3 separate regions of the Homo sapiens genome follow, and regions 1 and 3 are each linked to region 2. Evidence: promoter capture Hi-C in human tissues and cell types (Jung and others, 2019). All regions are on one chromosome and are shown on one strand. The core of a region is centred on a gene start or on the middle of the fragment in contact, and the rest is flanking DNA. Distances in the headings are between cores, read along the strand shown.

Evidence for each region. Contacts are between HindIII fragments. The study calls those that stand out against the background at their distance.
Region 1: a contact is called between a fragment that was not itself captured here and the fragment with the promoter of SSH2 in region 2, in 1 of the 25 tissues and cell types used here (spleen).
Region 3: a contact is called between a fragment that was not itself captured here and the fragment with the promoter of SSH2 in region 2, in 1 of the 25 tissues and cell types used here (adrenal gland).

What each region holds. Positions count from the first base shown.
Region 1 is chr17:29,771,480-29,774,875 of GRCh38, reverse strand. The region is part of intron 3 of SSH2 (slingshot protein phosphatase 2); the gene reads left to right. Among named protein-coding and RNA genes, the nearest start is that of SSH2-AS1, 130 kb to the right of the region's middle. The HindIII fragment of the contact is 3,784 bases long and covers 151-3,396 here.
Region 2 is chr17:29,928,442-29,932,056 of GRCh38, reverse strand. SSH2 (slingshot protein phosphatase 2) reads left to right here and starts at 1,829. Exons shown (of 16, transcript NM_001282129.2): 1 at 1,829-2,119. The coding sequence starts at 2,057. It also overlaps a transcript of EFCAB5 not described here. RefSeq lists silencers at 647-816, 1,550-1,639, 1,790-2,069, 2,580-2,629. The HindIII fragment of the contact is 11,754 bases long and covers 1-3,615 here.
Region 3 is chr17:30,077,786-30,081,146 of GRCh38, reverse strand. EFCAB5 (EF-hand calcium binding domain 5) reads right to left here. Exons shown (of 23, transcript NM_198529.4): 15 at 2,643-2,932; 16 at 906-1,075; 17 at 166-394. Among named protein-coding and RNA genes, the nearest start is that of NSRP1, 37 kb to the left of the region's middle. The HindIII fragment of the contact is 7,904 bases long and covers 1-3,361 here.

The DNA.
Region 1 (3,396 bases), core at 793-3,292, 160 kb after region 2:
CAAGTCAAACTTATTCGAGTTGTCCACAGTTGGCAATGTTGATCTTCTTGCTGCTCTTGCCATCCTGCACCTTACAGTTTTAAATGTAATTCATGACCGGATGATTAACTTTTTATAGTACTATTACCCTCTCCCAGTATGATTTTCCCAATTGAATAAAAACTTCATTTTTAAAAAAGCAGCAGCATATATATAAGAACCAAAGTTTTGCCCATCATGCTTATCCACTTCTCTACTCTCCAATCCCAACCCCCAAAATTAGAATCTCACTTTCCTCCACGAAGTATGCAGGAAACTTTAAAAAATTAATAAGCTGGGTGCAGTGGCTTATGCCTGTAATCCCAACACTTTGGGAGGCCAAGGCGGGTGGATCACCTGAGGTCAAGAGTTCAAGACCAGCCTGACCAGCATGGTGAAACCCCATCTCTACTAAAAAATACAAAATTAGCCAGGCATGGTGGTGTATACCTGTAATCCCAGCTACTTGGGAGGCTGAGGCAGGAGAATTGCTTGAACCCAGGAGGAGGAGGTTGCAGTGAGCCAAGATCCCGCCATTGCACTCCAGCCTGGGCAATAAGAGCAAAACTCCATCTCAAAAAAAAAAATTTCCTTCTTGTTCACTACAAGTTATTTGTTTTGGATGAAAAAGTAAAAGGCTATTAGGAAAGGTTTATTATGAACACAATTCAGAACTGCTGAGTTTAGTATAAGGTCAAGTTTTTGTTTTTTGTCTCTTCTGATCTTATGTTTATGAGTTTAAACAGTATAAACTTTAGGAACTCCTTATATACTTGGTTTTTCTTACCTTGAAACCTGTATGTATATGCTCCTTATGCATATGTTTATGTCTTAAATATATTTTAAAGGAAACAGACACTATGGAAAGATTCCTATTATAACCCAAATGGCTGGGCGTGGTGGCTCACGCCTGTAATCCCAACACTTTGGGAGGCCAAGGCAGGTGGATCACCTGAGGTCAGGAGTTCAAGACCAGCCTGACCAACATGGAGAAACCCCATGCCTACTAAAAATTAGCCAAGTGTGGTGGCACATGCCTGTAATCCCAGCTACTTGGGAGGCTGAGACAGGAGAATTGCTTGAACCCAGGAGGTGGAGGTTGTGGTGAGCCGAGATCGTGCCATTGCACTCCAGCCTGAGCAACAAGAGCAAAACTCCATCTAAAAATAAATAAATAAAAAAAATAACCCAAATGATCTCTCAAACTGCCAATATCTTCATATCACTTTAACAAAATTCATATTTAATAATCTCAAAAGGCGATGTGTAAACCATCTGATGGAGAAATCTTACAAAGTGAAATTAAGGAGCATTTAATAAAACTAAGATGTTGAAGATTAGTATTATTTGTAGAATATTGGTCTTCAGAAAAGAGAGTCAAAATGTTTGCCATCTATTCATGAGGTGCTTAGAAAACAAGATTTCTGAAAAACAAAAGATTTCCCAGGTAAAATTAAAATGTTTTAAAAAATGTAATTAAACAAAAAATGTATATGAGTTTTAAATATATATTTTCTATTCTACTGTGTAATGACAAGGAATAGGACCCCTTGTCTTTTCTTTTCTACATTGTAATATTATTTCTATGGATAGAAACTCAGTTCTGATTTAATCTTCCTGTTTAGTTAGGTAGGATTCCAAGTGTGCAGTGTTGATTTTCTTTTTATATACAAAGGGAAATCTGGACGTCCAGCAGAGTAGTAGAGGATATATTAGTCAGAGTTTTCCAGAGAGACAGAATAGGATGGATGGGTGGATGATGGATGGATGGGTGGATGATGGATGGATGGGTGGATGATGGATGGATGGATGGATGGATGGATGGATGGATGGATGGACAGATGGGGAATTGGCTCATGCAATTATGGAAGCCGAGAAGTCCCATGACTGGCCATCTGCAAGCTGGAGACACCGGGATACTGGTAGGGTTTCTCAGTCCAAGTCCAAAAGCCTCAGAGCCAGGGAAGCCTTTAGAGTAATTCTCAGTCAAATGCCAAAGACCTAAGGACCTGGAGGGGTTCACTGGAGTAAATCCTGGAGTCCCAAGTCCAGAGAGCCTGGAGTCCCAAGTCCAGAGAGCCTGGAGTTCTGATGTCCAAAGGCAGGAGGAGAAGAGTATCCTAGCTCCAGGAGGAGAGAGGAAAGCTTTTTTCTCCTTTTATGTTCTATCTCGGCCTGTAGCCCAGGTAGATTGGTTGGTACCTGCTTACATTGAGACTGGATCTTCCCCACTCAGTCCACCAACTCACATGCCAATCTTCTCTGGAAACAGCCTCAGAGACAAACCCAGAAGTAATACTTTACCAGTTCTGTAGGTATTTTGTAATCCAGTTACATTGATACCTAAAATTAACTACCACAGAGAGAAAGCAATTAAGTAAGAGTAAGAAGACCTGATTTTTGGCTAACACGGTGAAACCCCGTCTCTACTAAAAATACAAAAAATTATTCGGGCATGGTGGTGGGCGCCTGTAGTCCCAGCTACTTGGGAAGCTGAGGCAGAAGAATGGCGTGAACTCGGGAGGTGGAGCTTGCAGTGAGCCGAGATCACGCCACTGCACTCCAGCCTGGGCAACAGAGCGAGACTCCGTCTCAAAAAAAAAAAAAAAAAGACCTGATTTTAGTTCCGTCTCACCTCACACTATGGTAGCCCTCAATTTCCTCATTTTGTAAAATGAGGATAACATCTGCCCATCTATCCTTTTAGGTTGCTGTGAGGTGGACTGAATAGAATCTGGAAAAAAAAAAACCACATCTTTTCTCAGTTAATTGATGTACTAGCTGAAGAATGATAAATACTGCCCCCTTTCTACTAAGGACTGAGGAGTTAATTTTTGCATACTTGTTGGTTTTATCTAATCCAGAGAGAAAAAACAACTTCCAATGTTGTGGTAAATTCTTGAACATATTTGACATGGTTGTTGAAAAGTGTATAATTGTGTAAGTGTCTGATTTTGCATGTTCACCTGATTTCAGAGAAGAAAGACATAGAAAGTGAAATATGGCCAGGGAAGTTGATACACGAAGGCTTAGAGAGATAATGATGCTGCTCTGCCAGGGCCTGGAAACTTGACCATCCTAAACAAACTGCATAGTACTAAATTGCTTGTGAAAGGGCTGAATCAATCCTGCTGTGATTTGAACTTTTGGCTCCTGAAAGTCTAGAGCAGGCTTGAAAATAAAAATAAAACCCTTACCTACTTACTAGGTTGTGTTTCAGGCCCTCTACTGAATTCTGTGTGTGAAGGAGGTATCTATCCAAAGAACAAGAGGCAGCAAGAGAGAGATGAAAGGCAGTGAAAAGGAGTCTTAAGGGCTACTCCTTATTTAGTGAGGCAGTGCTCCCAGGGAGAAAGAACTTCCATCATTAATGTACTG
Region 2 (3,615 bases), core at 580-3,079:
AGAGATAAAGGAATTAAAGCTCAAAAAGTTCAAGCCATTTGCATAAGGTTTTAGAGCTGGAACTAGAAACCAGGTCTTCTGATTCCTATGGTAGTGCTCTTTCTCACTGCAAGGTTAATGGACTTAAGCCTTTCATCTTCCAAAAGAATTTCTGAAGAGTATGTTACCATGAAAAAGTAGAACATCATTGTTGCCCTCCCTGAGTCAGAGAATCAACATACAAGTACTAAGACCTACAGATTTGAATATTACTTTTTCTAGAATGATACTTTGGTTCATAAAGCACATATATTTCATTTATTTGAGTTCATTCAGCTTCTAGCTATGTGTATTTTTTGGCTATGTATCTAGTTTCCTCTTTGGTCTCCCATGCATTGGTTCAAAGTTCTTACTTCTGAAACTTGCCTTCTCTTTTCCTGTTTACTACGGAGCTCTGGGGAAAACACAGTCAGATTGTTTAATCTGTGAACCATACATCTTTGTTTAATTTTGTCTCACAGGCACTCCTGATCACCACCAGGGGGCAAAAGCCTACCAGCTGGCTTCTCTGCACTACACTCTACATAGGACTGTACAGTACAGGGACCCTCAGTGTCTGATTCTTGATGGAACCTCCCTGCTAATTATTTCAACCACAGGGCCCCAGGGAGAGAACAAAGGCTCAGCACAGAGGACTCTTGTGGCGTTTAACCGTACAGCAGCCAGAAAGAGCTCATGACAGCCCTGTCAGTTTAAAAGAAGCAATGAGATCCAAGAGTGTTTGAGTGACAAACAGGAGGGGGTGGGTTTTAATAACTGCAAACTCCCAAGTGTGTGTGTTTTCTACAGCTTTGATATGTACGGTGGTATTTACCAGCTCATCCACTCAAGCTGAGAAATAGCCTTGTCAACTCTCTTTCTTTGTGTAAATAATCAGTGATATTTGCATTGTGCAATTTTTTTCCTTTTTAATCTTGATTTTCCATTACATTCTTTGCTTATGTTCTGCAGACAATTTACCCCTGAGAAAACCATTCCCTTAAAATATCTTTTAATCTACATTTTTACATAGGTCTATGAAAGAATGACATTTAGAGACGAAGGAGAAGAAAGCTTAACGAGCAAATCCTGTTTAATTAAAAGACTGTCTTCACAGCAGGAGGCAAGTGAGAGGTCAATAGCAGGCTGGACCCTCACAACCGGCTTCCTCGGACTCCCAGGCGCGCTCAGCTTCTCTTCTCCTCAGGAATAATGAATAAGTCTTTAGACAGGCAATAGAGGAAGCATGAGGGTACCACAAACCTTTCCAGGGTATCAAACGGAAAATGGTTTTCTTTCCAGAAGTCTCATCATAAAACATAGACGGAAGGGGGGGAAAAGTTAAGAAAAAGCCCCCGAGAGCCGGGGTGAAGGGAGTAAACTGGTCTAGCCCAGTTCTGTCTGCGCCCAGTGAGAGGGTTTGAAACTCCGCGGAGCCCTTTCCCAATAGAAAACGTGTTTGCTTCAGGATTTTCATCTCAGCTGCTTTTTTTTAAGGTTGGTTAAGCTGTGCGCCGCCCCACCTCATAAAATGGTTGTCTCTCAGGAGTGAAGACTCCAGCGGCCCCCCGCCCTGGGACCCCTCACCGGGCTGGCTCCCTTCGGCCCCTTCCCCCACCCCACTCCACAGCACCCAGTGCTGGCAAACCGCGCGATTCCAGCACGAAGGAGGAAACCCAGGAGGGTGCGGCGGCCCGAGGCGCACGCACTCGGCCAGCTTCCGGCAACTCAAGGGTTACGACCAGGCGGCGGCGCGCGCCGAGGGGAGAGGCGGTAGCTGACAGGTGGCGCCTGCGCACTGGGAGCGCTCATTGTGCCCCGCAGCTGCGGAACCGCCCGCCCGCCGCCCGTTCGGAGCGTCAGTCGGCGACAGTCTGGTGGTGGGTGCGGAGTCTGCGGCCGTTCCCGCGGCCTCCTCCTCCTCCCCGTTCCCTTCACCCCCACCCCGCACCCCTTTCCCCATCCCGGCTCCGTCACCCTCCCGTCCCCCACACTCAGGACAAGAATGCCCTGCCCGGAACAACCCAGCAGCGCCTAGATGGCTTTGGTCACGGTCCAGCGGTCACCTACCCCCAGCACCACCTCCAGCCCCTGCGCCTCGGTGAGTCCTTCCTGGCGGCCGCTCCGCTTGCTTCTGTCACTGCGGCTCCGCTTTGCCTCAGCGGGTCCCGCCGAACGCCACTGCGCACGCGCCGCGCCGCTTCCCAGGCCTTGGCACTCGGCTGCCGCGAACCCCCCCACACCCCCATGTTAAAGACTAGCAGCAGGAACTACAAGACGTTGATTTTTGCCCCCATCACCCTGAGCACCTAGCTCCTCACAATCCTCGCCCTGAAATCCCCTGTGGCATGCCTCCCTATGGCTTGAGCACTTCCTTTTGGTAATGAGTCATTCTTGCTTTTCACCCTCCCCCTTCTTTTACCCTCTGTTGCTCTGCTGCAGGGAGGGGACCGTGAGCCTCCTGCGTTGCCCCTTACCCACACCCACATCTCTTACCCACACCATTTCATAGACCTGTTCAGTATTTGCACACTGCACACCCTTCTTCGTACTCGCCAGGGTGTGTGCCTTCCCCTAGTCACTTGCTGGCTTTCTTTTGCTCTGTACTGTTCAGGCTTTGAACTGCCCAACCGTAGTTATTCCTTGGTTTCTCCCGCCTGCCCCCCACCCCAGAGGGTAGCAATGATCTCTGTTTCCTGGACCTCTTACCTTTCCTTTATGAGGTCCCGAAGCATCTGGTGCTGCTTAGTGATCAGTGTCAAATTATTTCCGTCTTACAGATATTTATGCCTTACACTCATTGCTCGTGATCATTCTTGTTCTAAGGTCGTGTTTGTATGGCTCGTTACCTCAGATGCCTATGCCAATAAAGCATGCTCTCAGAAGGAAAATACCCAGTAACCAGCCTTTCCCCGCTGGGCCCGTCTTTGCCTTCTCTCCTCGCCCCACCCCCATTCGTTTACACTCCATTCTCTTAGGCTCCATTTTTGAAAATATTTATTTTTAAAAACAATATATTGCACCAGTGGGGCAAATGGGCTTTAAAAAACCAACATCCAGATGTTTTAGAGAGAAATAAACTGAGTGAAAATGCGAGCAACTGGGAAAACCACCTTGAACTTCCTACAGAACTGTAATTTTAAAAACGGTGTTGGTGGATTTGGTAGTATCAGGTTGCAAAAAAAGGTATTTAATAAACACTGTACCACTTTCCACTGTAAAAAAATCATCAGGTTACCCTTAATATTTGTATGTTAACTGAGGTGTGAGCTTTGATATCCTGAAATTTGCTGGCTTGTCATTTCAGTATAATTTCCTGAATTTCAAAGTTTTGTTGTGTATGGTTGTGGTTTCTTCTTTTCTGAGCTTTAATTGCATTTTGTGTGATGAAATTGACAACTATATCTTAATAAGTGATTTTATTTCAAAGGTTATATATCTTGTGTTGTTTCAGAGAGCAGAACTGGGATTCTTGGTTCAGGGAGGCAGATTTCCAGTGATTGTAAGGAAGAATTTGTAACAGTGGAGTGCACTGCCTTGCAAAATAGTGAGTGCACATTGCTGGAAATATTCAAGCAAAGGCTGGAGAACATTTTG
Region 3 (3,361 bases), core at 92-2,591, 150 kb before region 2:
GAACTTCTCAAAAGACTGAAACATACATTCAGGGAACAGGAGCAAGTATGATGATGTTATCTGTATACACAGCTTTACTCTCATCGGATTTCAGGTTTCACTCTTTAAAAAGTATTAGAAAGAGAGGCCATCCTACCATCGCTCTTGAAGACTTCTATGACTTACCTGATAGAATCTGATCTCATGAGGTAGAAAGATGTTTATTTCGTGGGGATCTCTAAGGGTATCAACAGCCAAGACCCCAAAGATCCTCATATATGCATCTTGAAGAGGCAGAGCCAGGAATGAACCATTATAATCATGCTTATTACGGGACTGGTTCCAGAAGAAGATGTTCCCATGGTACTGAACTTGGGGAACATGGATTGGCTTCCCTTCATCCACTACTGTAAAGCTGAGGAAAAAGAGTATGAGGATGGAAGAAAGGCACAGGGAGAGATTTAGATTAAACCATGGAGGAAACTAGAGCGATTCTCTATTCACAATCTGTGGCATTATATGACCGAGCAGTGGACTCAGATAAGATGACCAGTTTGGAGGTCTGACTTGAGAAAGACTAAAACAAAAACAAAACAAACAAACAAAAAAAAAAAAAACAAGCTTGGATGTGGACATAGAAAACAAATATAAACAGAACTCCAGAGACATAACTTATGGAGCAGGCAGAAATAATTGAGATGATATTGTGACGCAGAGTCCCCATGTGGCGAATCATTACCAAAGAGCGAGCTCTAGAAATAAGTGAAATCATCCAGGACTGGAAGCCATCAGCTTCTACTCCAGAAGCACTGGTGACTTGAGGCACCTCTCTTTTGAGCAGCTAGCTGGGATCTTGATGCCAGTTTACTCAGAAAGGGAATTATTTTTTTAGGAGGGTGAAACCAATCTCTTCAAGAAGTTCTTACCTGATTCCTTTCATGTCCCTGTAGAGCACTCTGTTCAGTACAAATTGAGCATCATCTAAGGTACAAGCCACATTCCTCAATAGAACATTCCCTTTCTCAGGCAGTAGTAGGTTTTCTTCTAAGAGGGAAATGTGAGCACTGATCTTTTTATTTCCATGGGCTTCAGCATCCTACAGCAAAACGTTTCCGACCATGTGTTTGCCAACAGCCAAAGAACTCCCCTAATCATGTCCCCCTTACTAGTTAATTCATGCATCTTGCCCCAGTAGTTTCATTTTCCTGAATAAAGAATGCATATATTACTATTCATGGGCAGTGGGGAAAAGGTTGACAGCATAGCTATCCTGTAAGTCTGAGTTTCAGTGGGTATAACGGGTTTCTTCTATGCCAACTGGACTGGTTTACCAGAAAAGAAAAACAAAACCAAAAAACTCTCAAGTCTACTCAAATTTAGAGGTTTAAAACTTGGATTCCTTTGACCTATGGTCAACTGTCTGTGTTTCTATTGAAAGTGTTGATTTGAGAGAGAGAGAGCTGGGCCAAGAAGTTGCCTTCACTTCACTCATATTTCTTGACCGTCGACTGTGATGTGAAAGTGAAAAAAAATGCTCTCGAGGAACTCTTAACACACTTTGTATATTTGATCTATGTAATTTCAGGAAGGATTTTTTTGTGGCCCAAGATTGCAGACTTTCTGCAACTACTATTTCTGCAACTATAAATTCTCTGTACCTTAAATATTATTATTATGTTATTAACAATATTATGTGTCAATATATACATTAAACATATCCATAAATTGGGGACATGTGAGACACTTTCCTTGATATTTTTCTCCTCTTTCTATATATTTGGGTTTGCTTTCCATGCCCTTTTCTTTTGCCTTTATTCCTTCTTTCCACATACAAGATCTATGGAGTCATTAACAAATATGTAGCGAGATTTCTCTTAGGATACCACAGACCTCTGAAGCAAGTTAGAACAATGCCTCTTCTTCTTGAGTGGTCTTTTGGTCCCGGTGCCCCATTTCCAACTACACTGGAAAATTCGGCCATTCAGGAGATGATTCAATTGAGCAAGTATCGCTATTTAGCTGAGATGACTGGCATAGGTTCCCTGGATTAGTGGAATCTATGATACATGTAGAAGGCGGCTGTGCTGTTTCTGCCTGTGAATAGCAGCAACCTGGGAGTCTCTGAGGAGGTGGCAAGGCTGTAGGCAGTAGCCCCTCAGGGCCATGCGTTCTAAGTGACAGGATTCTGCAGTAGTCTCAGCTTGCTTCTAGGCAATGCTGTGAAATATTGTGTGGTGTCAGACTCGATAATGAGTTTATGATTTAAATAGTTCCTTTTAAAACTGACTCCCAAAATACCATGCAAGGGAAATGTAGCTTGAACTGCTTGTACATCTCCTTACTGATATTGTTCATAATCTGTCTATTGTCCATTCTAGGCTTATTTGACTCTTAGCAGAAATGAAATTAGAAATCCCAAGACATCTTTTCTACATCTGTCTTTTCTACCTTTCTCCTCTGCTTCTATCTTGTCAACCAGCAGTCACTCCAGTTGTATCTCTCCTAGGCTTTGGGCCATTTGTAATGGACTGGAATGAATAAAATATCTACAGCAGCACCCAGTGATTTTTCAAGAGAATTCAAGATGCTCCTCTTTTGCAAACATTGAACATCGCCTACTTTGAGGAAATGTTTCCTCTTACATACTGCTTTAGGAAACGTACCTGCATGAGGGCCTTAAAGGTCTCACTATACACCGGCTCTAGGGACACCCCACTTGTCTCTGCAGCACATTGGATTTGGTGCAGCCATTTCCGCCTGGCAGAATTCCTCAGACTCTCAATGTGGCTCCTCTCTAAAGCATTCATCAGAAATTCCACAACACTTTCCAGAACTTGGTCTTCATTGCCCCTGAGTTCAGACACAACCAATTCTATGTAATTCTGAAATTGTTTTGAAGACAATCTCACTTCGTGACCAGGGTGTGGCTTTGGAAATTGGATGTGTAGTTTAGCTAAAAGACACAAACACGAAACCAAGAACTAACCAAAAGTTCACTCATTGGTGGGGGGGATTTTCATTCTCCTCTTACGATGAACTGAAGCCCTGGGCAACTGCTCTCCTGGAAAACCAAGTATACCAAAGGCATCTCTGAGCCCAGTGGAATATGTTACAATGAATTTCTATGTTGAACTCAATATGACTCCTGTGTCAGCTTCTGTTTTTGTTTTGTTTTAATTTTACCACCTAGCCTGGTGAAACCTCAAGGTTTGCTTTGACTCCTTCCCTACCTTTTGCCTTCCATATCCAATAAACCACTTAATTCTATCCTGTTACTCTTTGGCAGTGTGGCCACTCCTCTCCTTTCATACTTTCATAACCCCAGAGCCAGCGTTTATCACTTTGTAATTGACTTAACAATAGTAAATGCTCAATACGTGTT